Linked DNA regions of Homo sapiens: region 2 is linked to region 1. The links are contacts of gene promoters, found by promoter capture Hi-C in blood cells and fetal thymus (Javierre and others, 2016). All regions are on one chromosome and are shown on one strand. Each heading gives the region's core, a stretch centred on a gene start or on the middle of the fragment in contact. The rest is flanking DNA. Distances are from core to core; before and after follow the strand shown.

Evidence for each region. The method cuts DNA at HindIII sites, captures the fragments that hold promoters and counts their contacts. A CHiCAGO score of 5 or more calls a contact.
Region 2: the fragment with the promoter of STK24 here is called in contact with the fragment with the promoter of TEX30 in region 1 in 1 of 17 cell types (total CD8 T cells); the score reaches 5.4 in total CD8 T cells.

What each region holds. Positions count from the first base shown.
Region 1 is chr13:102,771,280-102,776,902 of GRCh38, reverse strand. TEX30 (testis expressed 30) reads left to right here and starts at 3,117. Exons shown (of 6, transcript NM_138779.5): 1 at 3,117-3,221. RefSeq lists enhancers at 2,007-2,684, 2,685-3,362 and a silencer at 2,945-3,284. The HindIII fragment of the contact is 5,388 bases long and covers 1-5,260 here.
Region 2 is chr13:98,575,505-98,581,691 of GRCh38, reverse strand. STK24 (serine/threonine kinase 24) reads left to right here and starts at 4,585. Exons shown (of 11, transcript NM_001032296.4): 1 at 4,585-4,947. The coding sequence starts at 4,906. It overlaps STK24-AS1 (STK24 antisense RNA 1), which reads right to left and starts at 4,437. Exons shown (of 1, transcript NR_046542.1): 1 at 2,851-4,437. RefSeq lists an enhancer at 3,872-4,061 and silencers at 4,152-4,301, 4,322-4,631, 4,682-5,551. The HindIII fragment of the contact is 9,197 bases long and covers 1-6,187 here.

The sequences.
Region 1 (5,623 bases), core at 1,868-4,367:
GGTATTGGCAGGGCTGATTCCTTCTGGAGTCTCTGAGAGGGGAAAACTTTTCCTTGCTATTTCCAGCTTCTAGAGCTGCAGTCCTTATATTTCTTGTCTTGAGGCCCCTCTTCCATCTTCTCAGCCAGCATCTTGGCATCTTCAAATCTCTCCGCTTCTGTCGTCACATCGCCTTTTGTTTCTCTGAATGGCACAGCAGAATTATTCATAATAACCAAAAAGTATAAACAATTCAAATGTCCACCAACTGGTGAATGGATACTCAAAAATGCTGAATACTATTTGGCAATAAAAATATATGAGTTGTAACAAGGTGCAAAGTTCTGATGCATGTCACAGCATGGATAAACCTTGAAAACATTATCCTAAGTGCAAGAGGCTAGAGGCATACGACCATACAGTGTAGGACTCCATTTATATGAACTGTCCAGAAAAGGCAAATCCAGAGAGACAGAAAGTATGTTAGTGGTTGCCCGGGGTTAGGGGTAGGAACAGAGAATGGCTGTAATGCCAGTGAATCCCAAAATTGGAGCTCAGCCTGAGAGGGTTCTTGACTTTGCACAGGAAAGGATTCAAGAGCAAACTGACAGTAAAATGAAAGCAAAGCAAGTACATTAGAGCAACAAAGCACAGGAAAATTGCTTCTGGTAAACTGAGCAGGGCTACCCCACAGGCAGAGTAACACTCATGGATTGCTGGCTAGCTATATATATATATGTATCTACATATACATATATATGTATATACATACATATCATATATATGTATCTACATATACATATATATGTATATACATACATATGTGTGTATATACATATATATGTATATACACACATATATACACATATATAATATATACATACATATAATATATACATACGTATATAAACATATACATGTTATATATACATATGTGTATATATACACATATATACATATATAGTATTTATACTATATGACTATATGTATATAGTATTTATACTATATGACTATATGTATATAGTATATACATACACACATAAATACTATATATAATATTTATACTATATATGTATACATAGTATTTATACTATATATAGTACGGATATATATTATATGTGTGTATATATACACATATGTATATGTGTGTGTGTGTATGTATATATATATATATATAGAGAGAGAGAGAGAGAGAGACGGAGTCTCGCTCTGTTGCCCAGCCTGGAGTGCAGTGGTGCGCTCTTCTCGGCTTTGCAACCTCTGCCTCCAGGGTTCAAGCAATTCTCCTGCCTCAGCTCCCGAGTAGCTGGGACTACAGGTGCCTGCCACTACGCCTGAGTAATTTTTGTGTTTTTGGTAGATGCCGGGTTTCACCGTGTTGGCCAGGCTGGTCTCCAACTCCTGACCTCAGGTGATCCACCCGCCTTGGTCTCCCAAAGTGCTGGGATTACAGGCATGCGCCAGGGCACCCGGCCACTGGCTAGCTATATTTATACCTACTCCTTCATCGTACGCTAAATAAGGGGTGGGTTATTCACGAATTTTCTAGAAAAGGGGTGGGGAGTTCCCCGGAACTGAGAATTCTTCCGTTTTTAAACCATATAAGGTAAGGTCTGGGCATTGCCATGGCATTCGTAAACTGTCAGAGTGCTGGTGGAAGTGTTGTAGCATGTTCATGTATTATAATTAGTGTATAATGAGCAGTGAGGGCACTAGAGGTCACTTTGGTCACCATCCTGGTTTTAGCTGGCTTGGGCCTGTTTCTTTAGGGCAGTTTTGGCCGTTTTTTTAGGGCATCCTGTTCTGACCAGATCCTGTTTTGCTCAGCAGGTGGTGATCAGTGCTTGGAAAGTCCTGCTGATCTCCTACCTCAACTATAACTGTGCAAATACTTTTCAGGGGGATAATGGAAATGTTCTTAAATTATAGTGATGGTTGCAAATGGTTTTAAAATTACTGAAAATGATTGAATGGTACACTTCAAATGAGTGAATTTTATGGCATGTAAAGAAATGTTTTTTAAAAACACAGCTAAAAAATTAGGAGACAAAGAAGTATTAAGACTTTGTAATTTGGGGAAACACTTGTGATAAATGACAGCGACTATGTGGTTTTGTGGAATGTATTTCCTTGTATGTACCGTGACAGAAAAGAGGGCAGGTGCCAACTGCACTGGGCTTGGGGAAGATTCATTCATTTAAGAAATTTTTTTTTTTCTGAGCATTATTCATACACAAGAGGTTCACGGTTAAAACAAAAATTTACAAAAAGCAACCCTTTCTTCACCTGGGAGCTTATAGCGCAGTGAGGAGACACAGATACATCCATAGCTCGTGAGGTGACCGGGGAAGGACAGGAAGAGCGGGGAGGTGATCAGGGGAGGCCTCGCTGTGAAAACCACGCGCCCTGTCGACCCCGAGGAGACGCGGCCCACGCTGGGAGGGAGCAGCCAGGACAAAAGCCGGTCGTCGTGGGGTCCCGCCTGGTGAGTGGGGGTGAGGACAGCGAAGTGTGGGCTGCCCTGGGCTTCCAGGGAAAGGAGCCAGATGGAGAGGGGAGATGTGGGGGACCGATCGCGTGCAACAGCCTAGGCCACTGCCGGCCGCTGGCTGTGGCAATGAGCGCGGAGCCTTTGGAAGATCCAGGGGACAGGCTTCCACAGCATCCACGTGGCTGCGGCGTCGCCGACAAGGCCCAGGCGGGGGCAAGATGGTACGAAGCGACCATTTAAGTGATTGTTACAATCATCCCCGCAAAGATAACAGGGGGCTTGACCCCATGTAGAAGTGTGCGAAGCGGCTGGTTTCTGTCAGCGTTTGACCTTAACGGGAGTAACGAATCGACTATGGGTGTGAGGAAGACTGGTCAGAGCTGATCGCGCCTCGGAATGGAGTGGTGGCTGGGATGCGGAAAGGCCCCGAGTGGAGCAATCCTGGGTGAGGCGGAAACGGGGGCTGACTTTCCAGCCGTCCGCGTGCTACTGAGGCGGCGGCCACCCTGGCACCTTCCCCTAGCTCCGCTAGTCCGCGCGTACAGCCCTGGGATGTGGCGGGCTGGGAGACCCACGCTCCCGGCGTGCTCTGCGGCCCGGCCCGCGCACCCGGGGGGCGTGGCCTGCGCGCGCGTGCGTCGTAGCCGAACGCTGTGGCGGGGCAGGCGAGGCGGTCGCTTCGAGCGCGCTAGTCAGCTCCCTGAAGGGAGTGACGGCGGTTGGGTGCCCGCGGCCACTTTTGCCTTCCCGGGTAAGTGCGGCGGTGGCGGTTGGCGCCGCCGGCTGACGGGCGGCTTCCTGGGAGACGGGGAGAGCACCCGGCAGGCCCGCCTGAGACGTTTGAGGCTCGCGGGCGTCACTCCTCAGGGGCGTCTGGTCCGAGCCGGGAGGCGTTCCGCTAAGTTCGGTGCCCGCGGGCACCAGCCGGTGGGGGCTTCGTCCGCTTTGCCGGGTAGGAGGGCGGAATGTGGGGTTGGTACGGGCGGGGAGAGCCGGACGGGGCCAACCTGGACCACGTCAGCCAGTCCCGGGTGACTGGCTCGAAGTAGCCTCGGAGTTGAGAGGGGTCGACCGGGGCAGCCCGCGGCGCAGCCCCGGCAGCGCGCATTTGCGGAGAGAACGGATCCCGTGCCCCGAGCGCCGCCGAGCCCCGCACGCCCGTGAGACCCGCTTTGAATTTTCTCTCCATGTTTGCTGGGGTTGTTGACCCGACCCCCCGTAAGACTCGGACTCAACGTTTTTGTTTGCCCCACGACAGCCAGCTTAATGCTGTGGACGTAACAGGGCACGAACGTTTGTAACTGAAAGTTGAAGGGGCTGTGGCGTCTCCGTCCCGTGGCGTGGGAGGTGATCGCCCAGCCCTTGTGAGTAGTTGTCGTCCTAGAACTCCGCCGACCGCCTAGCCGGTGGAGCCGGCGCTCCGGACGCCACTAGAGCTGGCGTTTCGTGGGCGCAGCACCTCTAGCCGGTCATCTTCACCATCGCCATTGAGGGCACTGAGGCCGGGCCAGGCTTCAAACCCTGCCCTCTCTGAACCTGAAGCCAGAGATGAAAACCCAGACGACAGTGGCCTGGCACGGTGGCTCACGCCTGACCCCAGCACCATGGGAGGCCGAGGCGGGTGGATCACCTGAGGTCAGGAGTTCAAAACCAGCCTGGCCAACATGGTGAAACCCCGTCTCTACTAAAATTAGCTGGGCGCGGTGGCGGACGCCTGTAATCTCAGCTACTCGGGAGGCTGAGGCTGGAGAATCTCTTGAACCCGGGAGGCAGAGGCTGCAGTGAGCCGAGATCGCGCCGCTGCACTCCTGCCTGGGGGACAGAGCAAGACTCTGTCTCAAAAAAACAAACCCAGATGACCTAGAGCAGGTTGCTTGGGGATTGCATTATGGGGCATTTTCCGTGTTTCTGAAGAAAACCAGCATGTGTGCAGCTGCCGTGAAGAACACACTGTGCATCGTGAAGTCTGAAAAGAAGTAAAGCAGACCGGGAGAGGTGGCAAACGCCTTGGGATCCCAACGGTTTGGGAGGCCAAGGCAGGGGGTATCGCTTGAGCCCGGGAGTTCAAGACCAGCCTGCGAAACATAGGGAGACCCTCGTCTCTACAAAAACATTTAAAAATAATAAGCGGGCGTGGTGGTGAGCGTCTGTAGTCCCACCTACTCAAGAGGCTGAGGCGAGAGGATCGCTTGAGCTCAGGAGTTCGAGGATTCAGTGAGCTTATGATTGCGCCACTCAATTTTCCGGCCTGTCCGCCGGAGCGAGAACCTGTCTCAAAAAAAAAAAAAATAGGGAAGCATTCTAAATTAAGATAGTGGTTGTTTACATGCATCTAAATTTACTCCTTCATGAAGTTTCACTAAACTTACATTAAGGCTATTTAAAAACAAACATGAACCTCCAGCAATGGGAGAATAGGAAAGGAAACGCTGGCAATCAAATAGCGGGCTCCAAAACATGTATGGCTTAGCAAACCCTGTATTAACCACAGAATCTTCAAACTGCACGGAAACTGGCAGCACTGGACAGCGGTGGTACTGGGAATGAAGGTGGTGTGGTGCAGAAGGTGGGTGTAAGGAGCTTAAAGAAAGATGATTTAGGTGAAATCTGAGAAGCAATTGGATATCCAGATCCCCTTCCCCATTTCACCTGTTGGGTGACTGCCTTTCCCCTTGTTAGAAGACTGGATGGAGGCTTATTCTCTTGAGAAAGTAAAACAGAGGATCTTTGAACTGAGAAACCCAGGCATAATTGTGGGGCTGCATGTATGAAGATAGGGACACTGAAGCTTGAAGTCTTTCATCTCCTTTGTCTCACTCAACTTCCAAAACTTTTGCAGTCAGATCAGACTAATGCTCTCCAGGCTGAAATAAGAGAATTCTACACGCTCACACACACAGATGGGGAAAGGTACATAATAAGTTGCTTATGGTGGTTTCTAGGAAGTGAAAGGAACTTGGTGGTTGGGGGAAGAGTGTGTGGAAACTTCTGTTTACATTGTCTTTTAAAATGTACCATGTACACACGATACCTATTCAAAAATGAAATGTATTCTTCACCTCAGGAAGATCTATGAAAAACATATTCTGTAAATTATGAACAAATACTTTGACTTCTGTTTACATTTTTTTAATGTACCGTGTGCACATGATA
Region 2 (6,187 bases), core at 3,336-5,835, 4.2 Mb after region 1:
TTCTGGTTTCTATGCAAGATAAAGTTTAAGGCCTACACCCAAGGAAATATGAAGCAATGCTTATTAGCAGAAGTGTGCAATGTGAAGTGCGCAGAAAGGTCCACAGGCCTTGGCAAGGGAGAAGGAAGCTCTCATTCCTGAAGCTGAGCCTGGAAGACCCAGCTAAAGGGGGGCTGACCAGACACACATTTGCAGAAAAGGAGGTGTGTTACGGGCTGACTTGTGTCCCTCCAAAATTCCTATGCTGAAGTCCTAATTCCTAGTACCTTAGAATGTGGCTGTATTTGGAGATAGGAACTTTAATAAGGTAACTAAGCAAAAATGAAGTAATTGGGATGAGCCTTAATCCAGTACGACTCCGGTATCTTTCTAAAAACAAAGAATTAGGGCCAGGCGTGGTGCCTCACACACTCTGGGAGGCCAAAGTGGGCAGATCACTTGAGGCCAGGAGTTCGAGACCAGCCTGGCCAACATGGTGAAACCCCGTCTCTACTAAAAATACAAAAATTAGCCGGGTGTGGTGGCGCTCGCCTGTAGTCCCAGCTACCAGGGAGGCTGAGGCAAGAAAAATGCTTGAACCTGGGAGACAGCGGTTGCAGGGAGCCGAGATCTCACCACTGCACTCCAACCTGGGCAACAGAGCGAGACTCCATCTCAAAATAAATAAATAAATAAATAAATAAATAAATAAATAAATAATAAAAACAGGAAATTAGGACACAGGAACACACAGTGAAGACCACGAGAACACAGAGGGAGAAGCTGGCCGCTACAAGCCCGAGAGAGGCCTCGGAAGAAACCAATCTTGCTGACACCTTCATCTTGGACTTCCAGCCTCCAGAATGGTGAGGAAATAAATTTCTGTCGTTTTGGCCATCCAGTTGGTGGTTCTTTGTTACGGCAGCCCTAGCAAACTAAGGCAGGGTGCAACTGAAAACCTACTTAGGGTGATATCCCTGCAAGAGCCTGCCCTCTGAGCTCTCCACGCACAGAATGAAACCTTATTGGTACCATTCCTCAATGTAGCTGGGATATTTTTCTGGGGCTTTGGCATACCTTTTCTTGCTATTGTGTCATCCAACAATGACTAGACATTCTTCTTTAAACTGATCTTGATAATTTGTCTTCACCTACTGAACATGTGTAGAAATTTGTCTAAGCCTTCTGTTAGTTACTTATCCAAGCTACTCCTATTTCTCCCTTTAAAGTTCACCATGTAAGTCCCTTTCTTTAATCTCTGAATTTAAATTGCTAATGCTCTACTTGTCTAGCTGTTCTTTATAAAGCAGCATTTGGGGGTGTTTATCTTTTCAACTTAGAAAGAAAAGTGAAGGGATTGATTGTGGAATTCTTGTTTTCTGTTCCTCTCTGAGCTCTGCTGAGAGTGCGTACAAACTAGCTTAGGGGCAGCAAATACATAGGGGCTTTATATTTGGAGGGGCTCCATATAGGGGTATGGAAATATTCTTTGTGGTCCAGAATATATTTCAGATCATAATTCATTGCCAGACTGATGTCCTTAAGTGAACACAAAAGACAAAGAGGACCAGGGAAGAAAAATAATTCAATGGATAAAGTAAATAACTCAATGGGTTAGTATCTCCATGGAGACCATAAAATGCATCATCTCTATGGAGACTCTCATAATCTCCTTCTGGACTTACGGTAGTGTATAACCTGTTGTAATCATACATTGGGGGTGGAGGGAAAGTGACAAGAGGAAGAGGGTGAGAGGATGATCCTTTTCTTTCCTTGGTGGAAATGATAGCTATTGCCACTCTAAGTTTAATCAATTATGGTATTGTATTCATCCAAAGTTAGGATTCTGGGAGACCAGGTCCCTAGGATGGGTTAAGAGGCACCTGAGGATCTAATGTTTATATGCCCAGTACTGAACTGGGTATCTGACATGTATTAATAGTTGGTATTCAAAAAAGGTGTGAATGAATGAACATAATAGGCAATTGCACCGGATCTGATCCCGGGCTCAGGCCCTGTGCATCATCTCTGTTGTGCAAAAACAAATAAGGTGGAGACCTACTTCTGCCATGGGGAATACTCGGTACTACCTGCATAGGGCCAAGGAGAACCAGTAACTCCCATGTTGCTTCCTTCCCTTCTTTCGATAAGAATGGTGCTCAACAGTATGAACATTGTCAAAGGATGAAACAATGGTCAGTGTGGAGAGAAGATAAACAGGGTTCGGGGCAACAGACCAGCTAATGGATGCAAGTCACTGTGTCCAGAGAAGTTACATCCTGCCGGAATCTCCCTGTTTTGAGCCTCACTAGCCTCAGGACACAAACTAGGATTCCGGTTATTTTTTTATACCCAGGGTACTATGGGCCTTTGTCCCCCATCTGCTGTGACTTATTTGCTGGCAATTAGCCCACTGCAAAGTGATTTCTGAGCATTTACCATGGTAATGTCTCAGATCAGCATCCAGACATTTCCATCCATTCATCTAGTTTCTTGCTCTTTATCTTGGTGCCAGGTTATTGCCCTGGCTCTGCTGACCCTAGAAGAATATTTTTACTGTCCCTTTTCTATGCTTAGACATGTTTAGATCCACAAATATTTACCATTGTGTTATAGTTGCCTCCAGTATTGAGTTCAGTCACATGCTGTTCAGGTTTGTGGTCCAGGTGCAATACGTCATACCATATAGCCTAGGTGTGTAGTAGGCTATGCCATCTAGGTTTCTGGAAGTACACTCTATGATGCTCACGTGACAAAATCAACTAAGAACACATTTCTCAGAATGTATACCCATTGTTAAGCAATACATGACTGTGTGTCTGTAGGCCATATATATTAATATATATATAGTCATTTGAGATCAGTCTATATACAGTGTTTTGTACCCTGTATTTTCTTTAATAATATATAATGAATACATTTTCCCCATTACTAGGTACTGAAAGACATAATTTTAAATGACTACATAGTACTCGTATGAAAATGCTATTATTTACTTAACCTCTGTGAGACTTTTTGGCTGTTCCGTTTCCCCAGGATTCTAAACATCACTGTGTCTTCTTACATGCATTCTTCCACACTTCTTGGTTGTTGCCTTAGGATATGTTACTTTAGGTAGAATTCCTGGGCTGCGCTGAAGAATAGAAACATTTTAAAGATTCACATTCTTGCTTGTTTTGCTGTTCGCCTCTTTAGGTACCATATTTTTTAGGTGTACAAAATTTATACACCTGATTTTAAGTTCCTGGGTATCAGGGTTCATACTTCTCTTAATTTTGTATTTCCTTGCAGTCCTACTTACGGGTGGCAGGGCTCCTCAAGGGATGGGTGTACCAATGACAACCATGAAAGTATTCTAAGGTATTCCCTAGGACTCCGAGAAAAAACATGCATCTTTCCAAAGGGAAAGAAGGGATTAGATGTTAGCATCCTACTCCATGTCAGATCCAGAGCACCCGGGGGAACTGAAGTTCGTGGATGGAATACAATGACACCTCAGAAAAGAAATACTCCTTTGGTGGAGGCCTTTAAACTTTTGGGGGCTCATTTTGTCTGCCTAACTCGCCCAGCCAGGGCGCAAAATGGCCACTTAGGAGCATGAGTGAGGTGCCAGCGTCCCTACAATCTAAGGAGCAGGGAGTCATCACTGGGGTGGCTGCCGCTCTACCTGTTTGCGACTGTAATAAAACACCTTCTGGAGGCCGAGGGACCCGCTTCATCCTGACTTTTCCCCTCAGTAGCTAGAGAGAAGGCGGCTGAAAAGAGGAGACAGAACTGGTGCTGAGTGGGCCTGGAGCTTCCGAGGCAAGGGAAAGAGGGAGAGGGCTGCAGTTCAAAGTCCAGACGCGCTTTCCTTCCATTCTCTTCCCTTCCTCCCTGCCCTCTGCGCCCCATTTTCCCCTTATCGTGGGTGGGGGCTTCTGATTTGCTGCGGATCCCAGAGATGGTGGGGTTCAGCCTCCGCACTGCTTAGCTAAGTTCCCAGCCCAGCAGTCCCAGCCGGGCTGTTTTCGGTAACCAAAGCACTAGGAATTAACCTCTCTCTCGGCCTCTTCCCTTTCGGTTTCCTTCTTGGGTTGGCTGGAAACTTCACCCAGACACCGAAGCAGCTCTGCCCGGCCTTTTGGCACAGGCCACCGGCCGAGGCCCCACGGGGCGCTCTCCTTCCCCAGGTGCCCCCGACTCCGATCCTGCCCTCAGGGGCTCGCCCGGGACGCGTTTTCCCAGAGGCCGCCGGGGCGGGGTGGGCTGGCTGGCGGGAAGAGGGGGCCGCGGCCCAGGCTCGCCCCGGCGCCGGCCCGGTGGGCACGCGGCCAGCCTCCGGCCCCGACTCGGTCCCTCCCGGCGCCCGCCCCAGCCGAGGCCCCCTCCCGGCCCCGCCGCCCGCCCGCGGGGGCGTGGGAGCGCCGCAGGAGCAGCTGGGACCCGGGCCGGGCCGACAGGCGGCGGCTGCGGCCTAGGGCTCCCGCGCGGCCACCGGCCTCTCCCCTCCCCCTCCCGGAAGCGCGGGGCGGGGTCCCCGGCCGGGCCGTGGGGGCGGGCGCGGGGGCCGGGCCGGGGCGGGACGCGCTCGGCGCTCGCGGGCTCGGCGGGCTGTGCGCGCCCACTCCGGCTCCAGCGGCCAGCGCGCGCGGGCCCAGGCCGCCCGGCTCCAGCCCAGCAGTAGCGGCAGCAGCGGCGGCGGCGGCAGTGCGCGCGAGGCCCTGCGCCCCCAGCAGCTCCTCCCTGGCGCCGTGCATGGAGACGCGGCCCGCCACCCGCCGCTGAGCCCCCGCCGCCCGGCCGGGACCCGCCAGGGCTGGGGTGGCCTCGGGCTCCGGCCGGCCCCGCCGCCCGAGGGCTGCGCGCGGCCCGCGGGCCTCGCCGCCCCGCGCGGATCGTCGCGGCCCGGCCGTCCCGTCCCAGGAAGTGGCCGTCCTGAGCGCCATGGCTCACTCCCCGGTGCAGTCGGGCCTGCCCGGCATGCAGGTAGGCGGGCGCGGGCCGCGGGGCCGGGATGCGCGACCGGGGCGGAAGCAGCAACTTGGCGGTATCCACACGGCGTCCCCCTACGCTCAGCCGGCCGGGGTCGCGCCGGAGCCTGGCTCCCCGCGCGCCCGGCTCGGCCGGGGGTCCGAGTCCGAGTCCCTGGGCGTCCCTGCCGGCTCCGGCGGCCGAGGTCTCCGGCGTGTGCGTGCAGGAGCCGTAGGAACCGCGGCCTGGGTCCGGATGTGGGGGTGCGGGCGCCTAGTCCTCCGCGCTCCCCTCGCCCCAACACTCTTCCGGAGCTGCAGGCCCTGGGTGGCCCTGTCCCCGGGAGAAGTGAGGTGGAGTGATGCCCTTGGAGGCCCCCGCCGGGTCCCGGGGCCCTGCGTGGTGGCCGGGTTGGCGGAGGGCCCCAGGACGCGTCCCCCAGGCTCGTCCCCCACCCCCGGGCAGGCGGGCGGGAGACCTGGGCAGGGCGGGGACGGGGAGCGCGCCTGGACTCGTCCGGGCCCGAGCGGAGTAGGCAGGGTGGAGTGGAGGAAGGTAACCGCGAGTTCCACTTGCAGTGGCTTTGCCCGGAGCCCCCGTGCACCTGCGGACCGGGGGAAAGTGCGAGTTGCAAACCTTCTGGAAGGAGGAATCCCTCGGACAGCCGCGCACCAGGGTCCCGGGCCCGGCCCCGGGACCCTGGACTTTCACTTTGAGACTTGGTTGCATTTACAGGAATTCTTCGCCCAGTAAACCTCTCTTTCGGTACTTGGTGACACCTTGGCCTACCAGTGACTTTTTGGGGAGTGGGAGAGGAGTTGAATTTCAAATTTACATGTATAAGTTAAAGGTTTTTTGTTGTTGTTGTTTTCGTTGTCGTTGCTTTTAGCCCTTTGAAAAACAAAGCTACCGTCCTTGGCTAACTCTTGTAAACTTTGTAGGCGCAGAAATGGTGGCAAAATGCTTAGGATGGAAATCTTAGGATGCAGTTAGGATATGTCATGAAAGTTTGCTCTGCCAGTTTAGCTGAGTGAACGTTAAGTGTTTGAAGAAAACCAAAAGCATCCAAGTAGATTACTGGTTGATTTACAGGTACCAACAGGCTCCTTCCCTGTGTCTTGAGGGCTGAGAAGCACAGAGCCCAGACCTGGGACTGCCTCTGGGGTCTGCTCGCCTCTTCCAGTGAGATCATCCCTCTCCCTTCTTTTTTTGAAACCGTAAAAAGAAAACTGGATTTCACTGTTCAGGTTTGAAT